2 separate regions of the Homo sapiens genome follow, and region 2 is linked to region 1. Evidence: promoter capture Hi-C in 16 types of primary human blood cells and fetal thymus (Javierre and others, 2016). All regions are on one chromosome and are shown on one strand. Each heading gives the region's core, a stretch centred on a gene start or on the middle of the fragment in contact. The rest is flanking DNA. Distances are from core to core; before and after follow the strand shown. Region 1 holds the start of PRR20A (proline rich 20A). Region 2 has its middle 17 kb from the start of PRR20E.

The links. The method cuts DNA at HindIII sites, captures the fragments that hold promoters and counts their contacts. A CHiCAGO score of 5 or more calls a contact.
Region 2: a contact is called between a fragment that was not itself captured here and the fragment with the promoter of PRR20A in region 1, in 10 of 17 cell types (neutrophils, fetal thymus, erythroblasts and 7 more). The highest score is 10.9, in neutrophils.

Annotation. Positions count from the first base shown.
Region 1 is chr13:57,138,747-57,142,779 of GRCh38, forward strand. It overlaps PRR20A (proline rich 20A), which reads left to right and starts at 2,172. Exons shown (of 3, transcript NM_198441.2): 1 at 2,172-2,385; 2 at 2,540-2,610; 3 at 3,632-4,033. The coding sequence starts at 2,559. The HindIII fragment of the contact is 41,430 bases long and covers 1-4,033 here.
Region 2 is chr13:57,181,718-57,185,750 of GRCh38, forward strand. No RefSeq gene overlaps it. Among named protein-coding and RNA genes, the nearest start is that of PRR20E, 17 kb to the left of the region's middle. The HindIII fragment of the contact is 698 bases long and covers 1,971-2,668 here.

The DNA.
Region 1 (4,033 bases), core at 922-3,421:
AGGGATATTCACAGGATAGAGGATTCCTTCCAAGCAGGAAACTGAATGTTGCATGAGGAACACTTCTCGCCACTGATACAAAAGTTGAAGGATTGTGGGATGGGTGGAGCAGGGGTGAGGGAATTTTTTTCTTTAATTTTTGTTTAAATTATGCTTTAAGTTCTGGGATACATGTGCAGAACGTGCAGCTTTGTTACATAGGTATAAAGGTGCCATGATGTTTTGCTGCACCCATTAACCCATCATCTACATTAGGTATTTCTCCTAATAGTCTCCCTCCCCTAGATTCCCAGTCCCTCACAGACCCCAGTGTGTGATATTCCCCTCCCTGTGTCTATGTATTCACATTGTTCGACGCCCACTTATGAGTGAGCACATGTGATATTTGGTTTTCTTTTCCTGTGTTAGTTTGCTGAGATGGGAGGTTGACAAAGGGACACGGAAGCCAACTAAAGGAGCTCCCGGTGGCCAAAGCTGGAAACATTGAGTAACAAAGTAATTACCTAAATAATTAATAATTAAATAGTTAAGTAAAATACTTGACAAAATAATTAGTTCAATTATTAAATAATTCATCCCCTGAAGTACTGGAGTGTAAACCAAAGCATACAATAGGTGTCCATAAGTCCATACGGATATAAATAAGTGATTAAATAAACAAACATGTGGGGGAGAATGGGAAAATCCTCCACACAGGAGAACTCCACAGAACTTAGGTAGCTATTCCCCTGCAAGGAGATAAAGCAAAACTTCCCTTTTCTTTACGTATAGGCTACAGGTAGCGACTTCCAGAAAGCACAGTAGAGAAAGAGGTGGGAAAATCACTTTATGGTGGAGAAACCTAATCAACACTGCCCCAGCCCGGTGACCAGGACTAATAGCAGCAGTGATAAGCCGGCTTGATGGTGTGTACTCTAGACAGGATGGGATGGGAATGGCGCTTTCCCGCTGCAATCTTCCTGACAAAAACATATAATTCCAGTCAGATCACAAGGAATACATCACACGAACTTCAGGAGAGGACATCCCACAATATATCTGATCAGTATTCAAAGTGTCAGAGTCATCAAAAACAAGGCAAGTGTGAGAAACCGTCGCAGCCAAGGGGAACCGTGACGAGTTGTAAGGTGGTACCCTGGATGGGGTCTTGGGACAGAAAAGGTATGTGAGGTGAAAGCATAGCAAAACCTCACTTCAACAGGAAATACAACCCAAAAAAGTAATTGGCCCGGCATGGTGGCTTGCGCCTGGGGTCCCAGCGACTCGGGAGGTTGAGCGGGACGGACGGCTTGAGCTCAGGCCTTCCAAACAAGCCTGGGCACATAGCGAAAACTCGTCTCTCCAAAAAAATCCGAAAATTATCCCGATGTGGTGGCGCTCACCTGTAGTCCAGCTACTCCGGAGGCCGAGACAGGAGAATCACTTGAACTGATTCTCCTATCTCAGCCACCCCCCCCCAACCCCCCCAAGTAGCCGCAGCGAGCCGAGATGGCACCGCTGCACTCCAGCCTGGGCTACAGAGCGAGAACCAGTCTCTGTAAAAAACACAAGGATGCAAACCAACCAAATAACCCACTGTGGGATCCCCTCCAGCGTCCTGCTGTGTTTCCCGCTGTCTTCCTCCACCCGTGAGTGCACCCACAGCAATAAAAGCCAGCGGTGTGGGTCTCACACGCATCTCCAGCCCCGTCTCACACGCACCACCTCCGGGCCTGGACTTGGCCTCCCGTCCATTCCCAGAATGTGCCGGGCTCCCTTCCAGTCCGGGCCTCAGCACACTCTCTTCACTCCCCTTCCTCCCTCCCTGCCTCTCCCAACCCGGTTCAGGATGACTAATTTCAAACGTTATGTTCCAGATTTCAGCCCAGATATCCCCGCTTTGGATGCTTTCCTTGACCATGCTCAGATCTAAGCTAATCGCATCTTCCTGTCAGCCGCTTTCAGGGCACCACACCTCATTGTGCTGACACTCAGAGGTCATTATGCAATTTTTTTTCCTCGATGATTAGATTAATCAATCAACCACGGACGTCTAGAAATGGCGGCATCTCAGAAGGGCCCCCATTTGACTGGCAGGGGACTGGCCCAATGCGCCTCGCAAGCCCAGCCAGGCCCGCCCCAGCCGGCCCCCCTCTGACGACGCCTGTCCCTTACGCGACTGCCTTGCTGCCATATAAGAGGGACGGCGCTCGGCCTCCAGCAGTCGGCTTTCTGCTGGGCTCGGAGCCAGAACCTGCTGCGTGCTCCCTCCAGACTCCCTGGCTGCGGGTGGACTACCTCAGAGCTACAGCGGTGAACCTGTGGACACCTCCGACTCCTCGGGCCTCTCTTCGTCGAAGAGTCTCCTAATTTTCAGATCTCCGGAGCCAGCTGTGGGAAGATCAGGTGTGTGTCTGGGGGTCCCGGAGGCGTGGACGGATCTCGGGTGGGTGCAGTTGGGGACAGAATCCTCATTCCCCTAGAAAGGCCACGGCCATCCCCCTGCCTTGTCACCTCTGTCTTCCTAAATCCGTTCTTGCTCTCTTGTTTTTCTCCCCAGCCCCTCCCGCCGATTGCTCATGGAGGAACCAAGGCCTTCGAAGCGACTTCGCTCCATGGCCCCTAATCAAGGTACATCAAACGCCTGCCACTCCTCTCTTTTTAATTTCGTCTGTTCCCCAATTCTTCCCCAATGGTTGACACTCAAACTCAATCAAGCATTCTCTGTTTCACCTTCTCCTAGCCTGCCTCAACCTGGGCTGCTTGTTGGAAGTCAGCTCCCGGGTTCCACATCATCTGGGAAATTCCTTTCCCTCTTCCGAACCGTAATCCCATTTCCCAAATCTGAGATTTGCTGTTGTTGTCGCTGTTTCCTTCTGTTTAGTTTTGTATTACTGTTTCTCCGTAGCAGAGCGAGTCCTCACGCTACGTCTTGATCTATGATAAACCGGTACTTCCACCTTGTTCTTTCCCGGAGGAGTTGGAATTTTCCGGCTGTTGCCACGTTGTTCTCCAAAACTTTTCCCTTCATACGCTGAGTGTCCTAAATCTTTTAATCTTGTCTAGTTTGACAGATGCATAACAATAAAGCATCCACTGAAAGGAAATTCTTTAACATCTTGCTTGTCTGAAACATCTTCATTCTCCCCTCCCAGATTCTTCAGCGAAACTTCGGTTGGACAGGAAATTTTAGGTGGGAAATTCATTTCCCTTGAAATTTCGAAGACATTTTCTGTTATGTTCTAGACTGAACTGCTGCTTTTGAGATGTCTGACTTTTGAGACATGTGGAATCCTAGCCCTTTCCATGTGACTTTTCCTTTCTCTGTCTCCCGCTCTCTAGAATCTGTTAGAATCTTCTCTTTTTCCTCAGCACTCTGAAATTTTCTGGTGAAATGTCTCAGCCACAGCATACCTCTAATTCTCTTATATTTCATCCTTCTTTCCATCATTTTAGGTTTTTGCTTTGTTCTGTGGGAGACCTTCTCAACTTCATTCTCCAACTTCCGTGGAGAGTTTTGTTTCTTCTCTCACAATTTTAACTTCAGAAATCCCTCTTTTCTCTGAGTATTTATTTGTAAAAGTATCCTATAACTGCTTGACGGGTGAAGTTCCTTCTGTCTCTCTCTGCTCACGCTCCGCTTCTCTTTTAGCCTCAGGTGGGCCTCCTCCAGAGCCAGGCTGCTGTGTTGCGGACCCTGAAGGCTCCGTGGAAGCAGATGGGCCCGCACAGCCAGCCCAACCCGCAAAACCCATCGCTTACGTGAAACCCTTCAGACGGCAGCCCCCAGCTCGCCCAGAGTCACCCCCTCCTGCAGAGAGAGGCCGGCGCCGGGGAGGAAGCCGGCGGCCAGGGCGAGGCCGTGGCAGAAGGGCTGGGCCCCGCGGGGACGCTGGCCAGAGACAGGGGGCAGAAGGCTTGATGGCACCGGACGTGCACATCCAACTGGACCACCATGGAGAGCCAGGCCACCAGGGGGAACCGGAAATCACGGAGACCGCAGCCTTCTCCCTTTCTGAAACAGGTCCTCCGCCTGGAACTGTGCAGGAAGGCC
Region 2 (4,033 bases), core at 1,070-3,569, 43 kb after region 1:
CATGGTGGAGGATTTTAAGAACTTTCCATTGGCTGGAAGCTGGTAAATGAAGTTTGCCATCCCCTGATTGCAGTCATCCTGAGGACTGAAGGGTATATCCCCAAGAGGTAGCCCATTTATCTCCACAGAAGAATGCTGAAGTTTTATTTCTTTTATGAAGCCCTCCGAGATCTGAGGGGGCTCTACTGGTTCAGAAGTCTGGGGCCCTCTCCTTACAGACTTAGCTGCTTTGTCTGCCAATTTATTTTCCTCAGCTATTTTACATGGCCTTAACAATGTGTTAATGACACTTCCCATGGAAGGAAGAATGAGGATAATATTTTGTTGATTTCCCAATGATATTAATGGAAGACCCACTGGCTGTGAAGAAGTCCCTCTCTTTCCAGATAGTGGCATGGGCATGGAGGACTTGGTAAAGGCAGGAGTAAACAAGAGGTCTCCCCAGCTACAACTAAGAGGTTGGGGAAAATATCAGGTTAAAGTTTTTCCTAAGACTCCCCTCATGGTCATGCTAAGAGAGGAGGGAAAGCCTGGATTGGAGAGGAGAGCTGAATGGCCTGATCCTGTGTCCAGGAGGAGGTCTACCTTCCTCTCTTTGAGTTCCAGAATCACCTGGGGCTCCTGGATGTTAATGGTAGTCTGGACCACTGGAGCTGGGGAGAGGAGCCCCATGACCCATCAATCCTGCTGGACCATTTGAGGGACTGGCTCTAGACCCAGTGACCTGCGTTTCTGGGTACAGTACACCCTCCAGTGGCCCCCATTGCAAATTGGACAGGGTCAAAGTAGCTTCCTCCTGCTGTTCAGACAGTCCTTCATAAAGTGCTCTGGCTTGCTACATTTGTAGTAGCTAAAAACGCGTCTCAGAGACTCTGAGGTTTGTGAGCCTGCAGGGAAGTTATTAGAGCCTCTGCCTTTTCCTTGTATCTTCTTTCTCTTTTTTGGTCTTCCTCCTGGTTCCTATATTAAAGACCAAGGTGGCTACTTTCAGGAAATTCTCTAACATACTATTTTGTTCTATAACCTGTTTCTGTAGCTTCCCTTGATATCAGGGGCTGTCTGTGTGATAAACTTATCTTTTAGGATTAGCTGTCCCTTGACTGAATCAGCAGATAGAGAGGTAGGCTTTACCAAGGCCCTTCTTAGCCTTTCCAGGAAGACAATGGGATTCTGACCTAATCCCTGGCCTATCATGGATGGCTTGGATAATTGAAAGGCTTAAATCTAGTCCTTCATAAGACCTCCAGTATGCATACCTGAAGGTGTCTCTTCCTCCATTCTCCCATTTCATCATTGGGGTCTCATTTAGGACCCACCAATGGTATTGCTATTCTTCCAGTCACATAACTTTCATCCCCTTCCTTGGCCCTTTATGAGATACAAAAAGTCATCCCCAAAATGATCTGCTGTTTTTAGAGTGGCCTTTCAGCAGTAATCAGGGTTTGATTCACAAGCAACATGACATCATTCCAGGAGAGTTCAAATACCTGGGTTAAATTCAGGAAAGCCTCTATATACACCTCTCAGGATCGTCTGCAAACTTGCCAAGATCCCCCTTAATTTTCCTTAAGAACTGTAGAGAAAAGGGGACTTGGACCTTAATGGGGCCCTATTCACCAGGCATCTGTTGTAGGGGCAGGAGTGACACTGGGACCTGCCTAAAATATGTTTTTTAGGATGAGGTAAACTTGGAAGACCACCTGGATAGAGAGGTGTAGAGGCAGTTGATTCCTTAACTGGAGGGACCTCTGGGGTTTGTTTCCCTAGTTCCCGAGATTGCCCCTTGCAGCCTTTCCTGAGGTGGATGCTAGGAGGCTGAATCAATCCTACAATATTGGCAAAGGTCTGGACTATCCTGCAAGACAAAGAAGGCTTGCACAAATGAGGCCTTAGGCCACTTGCCCTCACATTTCCAGAAAAGGTCCAGCTACAGAATATTATTAAAAAAAAATGCTTCCTTCCTGAGGTTAAGCTTCTCCTTCCTGCATAACATAATTCAGCCACACCATTGTGCAAAGGAATATGAGGCACTTTTTCTTCAGGGTCTGAGAGTCAAAGTAGTCACAGTGATTCAGGATACACTCTAGAGGGGTGCAGGCTGAAGAGTGTTGGTTACACATCTGGAAAAGAGGACAGAGGATGAAAAAGTTTTCTTCCTCTCTCTTTCTAGCCTGAGGGTCAAAGGGGTCCCAGTGATTCAGGATGCACTCGAGAGGAGTCAGGTTGAAGTTGGTTGGTTACCCACCTGGAAAGAAGGAGAAAGGCATCCTTTTGTTATTTTATCTTTCCAGCTAATACCTGGGGTACATGAGGAAGAGAAAAAAGGCATCCCTGTTTTTCTTCCAACCTTATATTCCTGAGTCCTGGTGACCTGTGCAGGTGGCAACCATGGGTGCACATGTGACCTTGACCCATGAAGCAGGAAGCCGTAGCTGGCAGAAATATTCACACTCACCTGAGCTGTGCCTAAGCCTTCCACTGTCAATAACCTTTAAGTTCTCTAGACCGTATCTAAGCCATGAATGTGAGCATGACCTCCTTCCATGAAGCAGAAGAGCCTAATCGGCAGGAATTAGTCATGCTCACCTGTGCTGTGCCCCTAGACTTATGCTGTCTTTTGCCTTTGTATCCCTCAGATCTAGTTTTCCTTTCTAGGGCCTCAAACTGAAGCTTGGGAAAAAGGTGTCTCAGGAGGGTGTATGAACCGATTAAATTAGTCCCAGGCGGCCCTCACCAAATTGCAGCCAGTAACCAGCAGGGCAGTCCTTCGGTTGCTTCCCTTTCATAAGCAGGCAAAGCTGTGGGACCAGGTCCTCCTCAACCAAGGGAGAGGAAGGAAGTCCCTGGAGTTGGGGATCTAGCCCAACAATGTGCCTCCTAAAAGGACAACTTAAGTGCAGGGGAGGGGAAGGTGCCTAGGGAAAAAAGCCTCTTGCCCTATGCATGTGGGTTCCTCCAACAGGGGAAAGAAAACTCAACTGTTATATTCTCCTTGATTCTAAGAATAGACAGACACCACATTGTTCTCATTTACACTCCTGATGACTAAGCCAAATGCTCATTCTACCCAGTAATATTTCTGTAGTTTACAATAACATTATATACATTTAACATTGTATATAAAGAAGAGATAGGAACCATGATAGCCATGAAAATAAGAAAGGAAGAACAATAGGAAAGACTGGATGGAGGTCCTAGTACTGACACCCTAATGGGCAATCAGGGACTAAAGTTAGTCCAGGGGCCTTTGGAGAACTTTGAGGTGTGGCCTCAGCCAGCTACCCTCAGTTTCCCCCGGACCGCCTTCTGGCCCCATATGACAGCCAGACCTTCGTGACGGGAAGCTGGGTTGGAACAAAGTCAACATTCCCAACACCCAGGAGTGATGGGGGATTGCCAGTGTCCTCCCCAGCAAGCCTGTCCTGTGTGTCTTAAGTCAGGCAGGCTGCTCCCTCTCTTCCTCTTTTTGTCTTTCTCTTTCTCCCTCTCCTCTTCTATCCTATCTTTTAGTCTAATATTCCTCTACCTAAACATTCAGTATCAAAATTCTTCAAGTATTTATTTTAGGCTCAGTAAAATTAAACAGTCCAGATAGTAAATATTTTAGGGTTTGCAGGTCATATGGTTTCTGATGAAACTACTCAATTTGCTCTTTATAACATAAAAATAGCGGTATATATTATAGAAGTTAATGGCATGGCTGTGTTCCAATAAAACTGCATTTACAAAAGCAGACAGCACCCAGATTTGGCCAGCAAGTTGTAGTTTGCCAGTCCCCTCTTTAGGCTCTCTCTTTCTCTCTCTCTTTCTCCTCTCTCTCTCTCTCTCTCATCTGTAAGTTATGGTATCTTTCCCATATGTTAAAATACACACAAACTCTGACCACCGGTTAATAATATACATTGAGTCCAAAACTCTTCTGAGCTCTAGTCCTGTTTCCAATCAAATATTAGGTATTTTTCCACATGGATGTATCAATGGAACTGAGACAAAATATATCACAAATGCAATGTATGATTTTTCTTATCAATTT